Linked DNA regions of Homo sapiens: region 1 is linked to region 2. The links are contacts of gene promoters, found by promoter capture Hi-C in blood cells and fetal thymus (Javierre and others, 2016). All regions are on one chromosome and are shown on one strand. Each heading gives the region's core, a stretch centred on a gene start or on the middle of the fragment in contact. The rest is flanking DNA. Distances are from core to core; before and after follow the strand shown. Region 1 overlaps CLIC4 (chloride intracellular channel 4). Region 2 holds the start of IL22RA1 (interleukin 22 receptor subunit alpha 1).

Evidence for each region. Contacts are between HindIII fragments. The CHiCAGO score rates a contact against its expected background, and 5 or more counts as called.
Region 1: a fragment that was not itself captured here is called in contact with the fragment with the promoter of IL22RA1 in region 2 in 4 of 17 cell types (non-activated CD4 T cells, total CD8 T cells, activated CD4 T cells and 1 more); the score reaches 7.8 in non-activated CD4 T cells.

The regions. Positions count from the first base shown.
Region 1 is chr1:24,822,737-24,827,388 of GRCh38, forward strand. CLIC4 (chloride intracellular channel 4) reads left to right here. Exons shown (of 6, transcript NM_013943.3): 4 at 4,274-4,380. Among named protein-coding and RNA genes, the nearest start is that of CLIC4, 80 kb to the left of the region's middle. The HindIII fragment of the contact is 971 bases long and covers 1,883-2,853 here.
Region 2 is chr1:24,141,523-24,146,063 of GRCh38, forward strand. IL22RA1 (interleukin 22 receptor subunit alpha 1) reads right to left here and starts at 1,618. Exons shown (of 7, transcript NM_021258.4): 1 at 1,518-1,618. The coding sequence starts at 1,560. The HindIII fragment of the contact is 5,016 bases long and covers 1,085-4,541 here.

The sequences.
Region 1 (4,652 bases), core at 1,118-3,617, 680 kb after region 2:
GAATGTCGCCTTCTTAGTGGGCTCTATGGACCCAGAATGTGAAATGCTAATTAATTAGCATAATTTTCATCATGCAGAATTGTTTCTAGGGGATGAGTGGGAGGAGGAAGAGTTTCTGGGATCACAAGCTGCATTTATTTTCCTTCCCTCTATTGTGCTATATTGTTCTAGGGCACCCAGGGACCATTCTGTCTCACTGCCTTTTCCTTCCAGAACAAGGAGGTCTCAGGTCTTTATTGCTAGTCTTCTTCAGGCTCTGCTTGTAAGACTGTTTCTAAATAGGATAAGGAGAAAAAGGAGAAGAATTGTGCAAGCTTGTAGACTGGAATCTAGCATTTCTAATAACATGTTTTTGTCATTTGATGTACTGAGAACTGAGTGGTTTTTTGTGAACACTTCCTGATTTAATCATGACAAATATAAATACAGGCAATTGTCTATTCTAGAGTTGCTTAACATTGAGAGGCTAATGAAAAGCTCAAATCAGATAACTTTTACTGGTATGTGTGGCTATAGGTTTTAAAGTGAACTTTTTCTTCTTCTCTGGGGAAAGTATTTTTGTGTATGTTTTATAGTTCTTGCTTGAATGAAGAAACCACTTTGCTAAAAAACTTTGAGACTTGGATTTTTAACTGAAACAGCCTAGATATACTTAGCTAACTTACTGATAAAAGGATAAAATAGAAGGAAGCGAGATAAATTTGGAGGGGCATGCTATAAAATGTTATTAAACCTTTTTTAAAAATGAGACATACAGGCCGGGTGTGGTAGCTCACGCCTGTAATCCCAGCACTTTGGGAGGCCAAGGCGGGTGGATCATGAGGTCAGCAGTTTGAGACCAGCCTGACCAACATGGTGAAACCCTGTTTCTAATAAAAACACAAAAAATTAGCTGGGCGTGGTGACGGGCGCCTGTAATCCCAGCGACTTGGGAGGCTGAGGCAGGAGAATCGCTTGAAACCGGAAGGCGGAGGTTGCAGTGAGCGGAGATTGCGCCACTGTACTCTAGCCTGGACAATAAGAGCAAAACTCTGTCTCAAAAAAAAAAAAAAAAAAGACATACAAAAAAGGAATTTACAAGGCTAATCAGCCTTCATTTTTATATTTACACCAGAAAGGAGAAAATGCCTGAGATCTTTCCTAAAAGCATGGAAACATTCTTAGCTAGTCTAAAATGTTAAGAGTCTGTGATGTAAGCAGAATTAAGGACTTATCTGAAAGTCTAAATACCCTGGGTGCTCATGTCTATTCTGTCATTGACACTTAGCCTTTTATTATTTGCCTCCCTTTTGCTAAGTGTTAAAATGAGTTCTCACAATAATTGAAAACCATTGCTTGATCAAGCTATTTGCTAAAGCCAATAATAATGCATAAATTACAATGTAATGTTTGGGGAAGATGCAAAAAAGTTGATTTTGAACCTACTGGTTTAGAATTTGATTTATCTTTTAGAGATAATCTAATCTGTAATAGAAACAAACAAACAAACAAAAACACTAGACCTGGGGACAGGAGATTTCAGTTTTAGTTTGTCAATACTTTTTTTTTTTGAGACGCAGTCTCGCTCTGTCACCCGGGCTGAGTGCAGTGGCATGATCTCTGCTCACTGCAACCTCTGCTTCCTGGTCTCAAGCAATTCTCCTGCCTCAGACTCCTGAGAAGCTGGGATTACAGGCACCCGCTACCATGCCTGGCTGATTTTTGTATTTTTAGTGGAGACAGAGTTTTGCCATGTTGGCCAGGCTAGTCTCGAACTCCTGACCTCAATTGATCCGCCCACCTTGGCATCCCAAAGTGCTGGGATTACAGGCATGAGCCACTGTGCTTGGTCTCGTTTGTCAATACTTTTAATTAGCTGAGTGATTTGGGGGCCAAGTGTGTAAGCTTTCTGGAACATAATTTCCTTTTAGGTAAAATGAGAGATCTGAGGTGAACATTCTCTTATAGCTATACTATTCTGTGCATTAAATTAATAGTACAGGCTGGGTGCAGTGGCTCAGGCCTGTAATCCCAGCACTTTGGGAGGCTGAGGCAGGAGGATCACTTGAGCCCAGGAGTTCAACACTAGCCTGGGCAACATGGGGAAACCTCGTCTCTACAAAAAAATACAAAAAGCTAGCCAAGTGTGGTGGCACATGCCTGTAGTCCCAGCTACTCAGGAGGCTGAGGTGGGAGGATCGCTTGAGCCCAGGAGGTTGAGGCTGCAGTGAGCAAGATCCTGCCACTACACTCCACCCTGGGTGACAGAGGGAGACCCTGTCACACACACACACACACACACACACACACACACACACACACACAAAAGTACAAAATTAGTAATACATCTCAGAGGGACAACAGGGCATATTACAAGAATTACACTGTATGTATGAATGATGAATATATAAATGATCTGTAATTCAAGCCTGCCTTCCCGAAAATTATTTTAAGAACTATGAGGCTTACTTCATTAGTACAATTAGGTACAGCTAAATAGTGGTTGCGGAAAAGGAGAATTTGGGAAACTTGGCTATAGGAAGACATAGATGTATTGAAAAGGCATTATGTTCACTGCGCTATTTTTTGTTTGAAATGAGTCAATGATGGTCCTGTATCACAAGCAGTACAAACATTTAAACTGGAGGCTTGTTTGTATAGTCAAGGAAAATCCAGGGATGGTGGATCTGTGATTAACTGTTTCAGCCCAGGCAGAAACAAAGAAAATGGAGAGGGTAAAGGGCCCTATAGTTGGCGATGTGTGGTTAATGTATGGCTAGATAGATATAGATATCTAAATTCAGGTGAAACTCACTGTAATTTTTACAGAAAAACTCTTTATGTAAATAATTGTGTTTATAAGATAAATCTTTAAGCTTAAAAAATGAGAGCTATCTAGAGACTAGGTACACTTATTAAAAAAGATGTCTTGAGCATATAGGTGTTCCATAGATATTTTATATCTTCCTTACCAATATAGTACTCTGCCCAATATTTAGAAGATATATCTCTTCCTGAATTCAAAATAGTAAACAGAAGATACATGAATATAAAAGCTGAAACACAACTTGCAACTGAACTGAATTTTGAAAACTACTTCCCCTTCGTTTTTAAAGAAAGCTGGCAAGACAATGTCTTCAAATAAATGAGTTGAAATAATTAGTACACTGTAAGGTTTTTTCTAAAGTCTTATTGCTCCCAAGTCCATTTTCTAGTGACGTTTTGCAGGACCTTCAAGCTGATTAATCTTCCCTAAAATGGGGCTAAGAATCTGAATTCTTCTAGCCCTGACTCCTGGGGCTGACATGAGTCCTCCTAAAGGGAAGATGAATAATTGAGCTTTTTCATATATTTTCCAGTTTGAAGAAGAAATATACACAGAGTATGTGTGTTTTAAATCTAAACAGTGAAATATACATTTTTGTGTGTGTTTTAGAAAGCTGGTGTATTACATCTGTTCTAAAAGTAGAAAAATTTGACAACACAATAGAACACTTGTCAGTGTGCTTTCTGACATCTCATTTTGTTGTTGTTCGGTGCTACCCTCATAAATATTCTAGGGAATGTGTAATATAAGGGAGGTTTTGGGAAATCCCAGGTGTAGGTTTCAAGCGATTGATCCGCCTCCTTTTGTTTTTGTCCTTAACCTGCTATGGGTGATCATGATGCTTGACCAGCCTAGGCGCTTTTCCTGCCGTTGGGGTTCTCTGGCTGGTTTAGTGCAGGACATACTAAGGATCTGGTTGGCACTGCTGTTTGAGAAGGCGCGTGAGCTGTGCTGTCTGGTGACTACTGAGCACTTGAAATGTGACTAGTGCAACTGAGGAAGTGAATTTTTAATTTTGTTTGTGATTAATTTAAATTCATATTCAAATAGGTACATGGCACTAGTGGCTACTGTACTGGACAATGAAGATAGAGAACATTTCCATCATCACAGAAAGTTCTCTTGGACAGCACTGCTCTAGCAATCTCATTCCAAGACTCCCATTGGCCTGGCAGAAATCTCTGAACAAGTCAACTGTTTCCCCAGCATTCTAATTTATCAGATGGAGGTGGAGTGCACATGCCCTGTGGTTGCCAAGAATATTAATATGTGAACAAAAACATAGTGCAGAGCTTTGTCTCGTAAGGAAAAAACAGTTTTTAAAAATACCATAGAAAACAAATGATGGTATTTCTTATAGTAATAACTATTAAAAGACGTCTAGTAACTGCTAGCATGGTGGTTTGAGAGAACTTATGCTAATTCATCTTTGAAGGATCTATAATCCATATCACTTTTTCTATTTAGGTACTTAAAGCTTTCACCAAAACACCCAGAATCAAATACTGCTGGAATGGACATCTTTGCCAAATTCTCTGCATATATCAAGAATTCAAGGCCAGAGGCTAATGAAGGTAAAAAACAAAAACTTGAATTAACATTGCAACAAAAAACCCCAAACAACAACAGGCTGTTATTATGACAGTGATTATAAATGAGTACTTTAGAGTCCAGCCATTCCCATAAGTAATAAAAACTGTCTTTCAGAGTTGGTCAGAAATTGGACAATAAACTGGAATAAGTCCCTATGTTGCTATTTTTCCATGTTTCTAGCTAGTAGCACAGTATATAGTAAGTGTGTGATAAAATGCTTCTTGAATGAAGTTTATTTCATCTTATTTTGAGA
Region 2 (4,541 bases), core at 368-2,867:
TGCCAAGGCAAAGGACCCTGGGCTACGTGGAGGTTGGCACCACTTTTCAGGAGGGAACTGCAGTTAGCTTCCTGAAGTGGGGTAAGTGAACCTAGGCCCACTCCTGTCTTTTAGGGATGTCAGGGTCTAACAAGATCTCCCCCTCTTCTCCCACCCTCCTCGCTCCTTTTCCTCCTCAAATCTATCATCCATTCCTCAGCCTGTGTTGCTTCGGCACTTCCCGGGTGAAAGTCTATATTGTGAAATCTGGGGAGACATGTGTTGTGTGGAGCCTGGCAGCCTGGCGGATTTATAAAAGGCAACTTGTTTTTTCACATTCATGTGGAAAAACAATGTTCTGTCAACCAGCTGGGAAGCTAAGGAAAAATACACAAACAAGAAACAATTCCACATGCTCTGGAGTCAGCCTAAGATTGGGGGGGTGAGGGCCCGGTGTGTGCAGCGCGAGGCAGCTGACCCTTGACAATCTCCTAAGGGCTATTTCTTGGGGTCCCCCATCTCAAAGGGCTGGGAGCCTCTAGGATTTCTAACCAGTATGGCTGAGGGTCTAAAGGGACGTGTCTTGGTGCCTCAAGGGGGTGCCTCACATCTTCCTGGAACGCCCAGCTTGATGCTGGGAAGCAGACTGGAGGGGGTCCCACAGAGCTGGAAGCCCTGGAGACGCAGGCAGCCCTGGCGGGACAGTGGCAGAGAAGGTGGGAAGCTCTGCCTTTTCGTGGGCCTCGTCCTGCACTTGAGCAAGGAGGGCCTGGCCGAGGCCATACCTGCTCGCCATCCTCAATCAGGACTATGCTTTGACTTCCTAAGGAAGTTCCCTGAATTTCATGCAATGCACCAGGAGAGCAGAGAGAGAGTCTAGGGTCTCATGTAACGTTCTCCATAATGATGAGCCCCCCACTCCGCTCACTTTATTGGCTTTGAACACTATGCCCTTAAGACCTGTTTCCAAATGAGTCCTGTGTCTTAAGACCTATTAATGTAGCAGACCTGGCCACTCTAGGAGAAAATGCTCTTTCAGATCTATGATAACAAAAGGGGCCAAAGAGGCCCTGCAGGGGCATGGAGGGAGGCAATAGTGAACTCAAGCTTCGTTTCCCCCGGTCCTTCCTCCTCCTCCCCTGTCAGGCCAGTGCCAAGTGAGAGGCAGAGGAAGGATGGTACAAACTGTGCCGACACCGTTTGAGGGACCGAAGGATGTCTGCCTCCTCCAGGCCAATTCTCCATTCACTGAGGTGCAGCGATCCAGCACCCCCAGTTCAGACAGCTGGCTATATCCCTCAAGACCCGAGGGTCCTTTGGGTCCCTGGAAGAACCCAGGGTCTGAGGCACCCTCTCATGCCCCCAGCAAACTAAGCTGGGCATTTGCTTCTCCGTGAACACCCGGCACCCTGCTCAGCCCTAGCAGGGGAGAAACTGAAACTGGCTATGCTCGGGCTGGGGAGGGTGCTGGGGAGATGACCCTGATCGTTGGCCCCTGGGATAAGGGAGGTCTGACCACAGGGTAGATGGGCACTCACCAGCCAGGGATCCCACAGTCAAGATGGTCAGCAGCGTCCTCATCGGGGCTGGCACAGAGCCCTCCCTTGGCCTCTACTCTGCCGTGCACAGAGAGAGGGCTGGGAGTCTTGGCGCCCTGGCAGCTGGCTCCACCCGGGCATGGGGCGGGGAGAAGGGGGTGGGTGGGACCTGTGCCGGTGGGGAGCAGGGGTACAAAGGTGTCCTGGCCCTGTGTGCTCTGGAATTCCAGGTTCTGGGCGGGATCTAAGGGAGTTCCCTTCCGACTTGCAGAAAACAGCAATAGTAACAGGCTGGCTTGTTTATCTGGTCCGGTGGCTGATTCATCCCAAGTGGTTTATCAAGGAGCTGAGGGGCAGAAAAGGCAAGAATAATCCACGATATGCAGCCTTATCAAAAAGCAATTTGGCACTGTGGATCAAAAGCCTACACCACATACATATCTTTTGCTTTAATAATTCTATTCCTAGGGGATTTACCCTGATGAAAATAACTGGACAACAGAGGGGGAAAAAAAAGGTCCCAGAATGTTTCTTGCAGCAAAGGAAAAGCTGTGACTCCTTTGCTTTTCTGGCAGGAGGAGATTGAGGGCACCCGATGCTCCTCCTTGATCCTCCATATCAAGGCAGGTCCCCACGCTTGGGGTGGGCTTGGGAACAGCTCTCCCCTAGAGAGGCCGTTGGGGGTGAGGAAGCCCAGCCGCTCTTACCTTGAGCCTTTGGGTCTAGGATCTGCAAAAGTTTAGAAAAAAAATGGAACTCAAACTTCAGTGATTCTTTCTGCTGTGCTAGAGATGGGGCTGAACTTCATGAATGGGGCTTTGGTTCGGGACGATGAAGATTCAGGCTGCTCTCCCATCATTTTGCCACGTAGGGCAGGATCTGCACATGAGCTTCGTGTGAATGAAGGGACAGGTGTTTAGGAAATGGTTTTCTCCTTCCTGCAGGGCCTGGAGAAGGTAGAAGGGCCCTGGGGCCTGGACTCTGGTCAGGGTGGACACGATTGGAGGGTCCTGCCCCTGGGGAGAGTTTGCCTGGCCCCAAGCACACAAAGGCAAGCGAAATTTTAGCAGGGATCCTGCCAACGGGTTGGGTGTAATGGGCTGTGATATGCTGAGATCGGTGTTTAAGTTTTTCTTTCCTGAATTGTAATTGTTATCAGCCCTGATTGCTAAAGTTTGTTTGACAAAACAGCCAAATCTAAGCTGTGCTTTGGAGGAATTAAGGTAGGGCCCATGCCAGTCATTTCCTGAAACTGCAGGAAACTACATTTTCTAGACTCCTTTATCAACTGCTTTCTGATAGGTTTAGCCCCTGGGGGAAGACTGGGGAGGCAGAGATCAGAGCATTTCTCCCCTCGTTTTCTGTTTGAGTGGCTTCCCCAGCAATGGCCATATCCCTCTGCAGTTCTGGCTCCCTCTGGACAGTCCATCAGCCAGGCAACCCCTTATGTCTTTCTTGTTCCTGTTTGGAGGCCAGCTCCTGGCTCTGGCAACACCTTCTCCCCTCATCTTTCCTTTCAGTTGGTGGGATGGCACAGCTTCCTGCTTTGGGGAAATCTCTGAACTGTCTGTCCTGATTAGTGTCCCAGCTCCTTCATCCTCTGGGTGACGAGCTCCTTTACATTAAAGTCCCTTGGTCTGAAAGACTGGAGAGGTTTCTGTGCTACTGAATGAACCATGATGGATAGAGGGTTTTTGATGACTTTGATGACAAGGCAGTGTGGGGAAGCTACAGCGAGAAAAACAGGTTACAAGGGACGCTTAGGGAGAAGAGCAGGCTTTGGTCCCAAGTGGCTGGCCGAGAGGACAAGACGCAGCCCCAACAGGTCTGTGGAACACGAAAGTGTTCCTTGGGGCCTCTCAGAAGCACTGGAAGAAGGAACTTGATGGAGGAAAAGGGCATCCTGTAGTTTCGAGGGCCTGTGGTTATGTAGGAATTAACGGGAAGGAAGACACCTGGATTGCTAAGGAATGTGGGAACACCCAGACTTCATTTCTAACAGTTTAAGAAAAAAATAGGTGGGGCGTGGTGGCTCATGCCTGTAATCTCGCACTTTGGGAGGCCAAGGTGGGCAGATCACCTGAGATCAGGAGTTCGAGACCAGCCTGGGCAGCATGGCGAAACCCTGTCTCTACTAAAAATACAAAAATTAGCCGGACATGGTGGCGGGCACCTGTAATCCCAGCTGCTCGGGAGGCTGAAGCAGGAGAATTGCTTGAGCCCAGGATGTGGAAGTTGCAGTGAACCGAGACCGCACCATTGCACTCCTGCCTGGGCGACAGAGCGAGACTCCGTCTCAAAAAAAAAAAAAAAAAAAAAAAAAAGGAGAAAAAAATGAAAACAACCTCCATGTCTGACAATAGAGGTTTGGTTAAAAGAATAATGGTATGTCCACCCAAAGCAAGACAAATGCAGCTTCCAAAATAATGCTGGAGAAAAATGTTTCGTGACCTGGTAAAGACTCATCATATTTTTTCAAGTGAAAAGAGGCATAACATAACCTATGTACAGTACCACCCTGGCTAAAACGCACACCTGCACACGCAGAGCAAACTGCGTGTCTTCATGGATATAGATGAAAACACTAGGGGCGTTATCTCTGGGTGGTAGTGGAATTGTAGGTGATTTTTCTTTTCTTCCCTTTGCTTATCTGCATTTCCTAAAGTTAATATAGGAAATACACTAATTTATATTAAGGGAAAGCAAGGTTACTAAACATAACAAATCGGCATTAAAGACAAGCCTTTGTTGGGGCTCTATCCTCCTCCTGGAATGCCATTTCCACTCCCTTAGCCAATTCCCTTTTCCTCGAATCTCACCAAGACAGTTTTCTTCTGCGATATGGCCCTTCTTGATAACTCCAGCCCATAACATCTCACTTTGAAAGTCCTTCCAGAGGCCAGGCACCGTGGCTCATGCCTGTAATCCCGGCATTTTGGAAGGCCAAGGAGGGAGTATCGCTTGAGTCCAGGAGTTTAAAGCCAGCCTGGGCAACATAGTGAGACACTGTCTCTATAAATAATA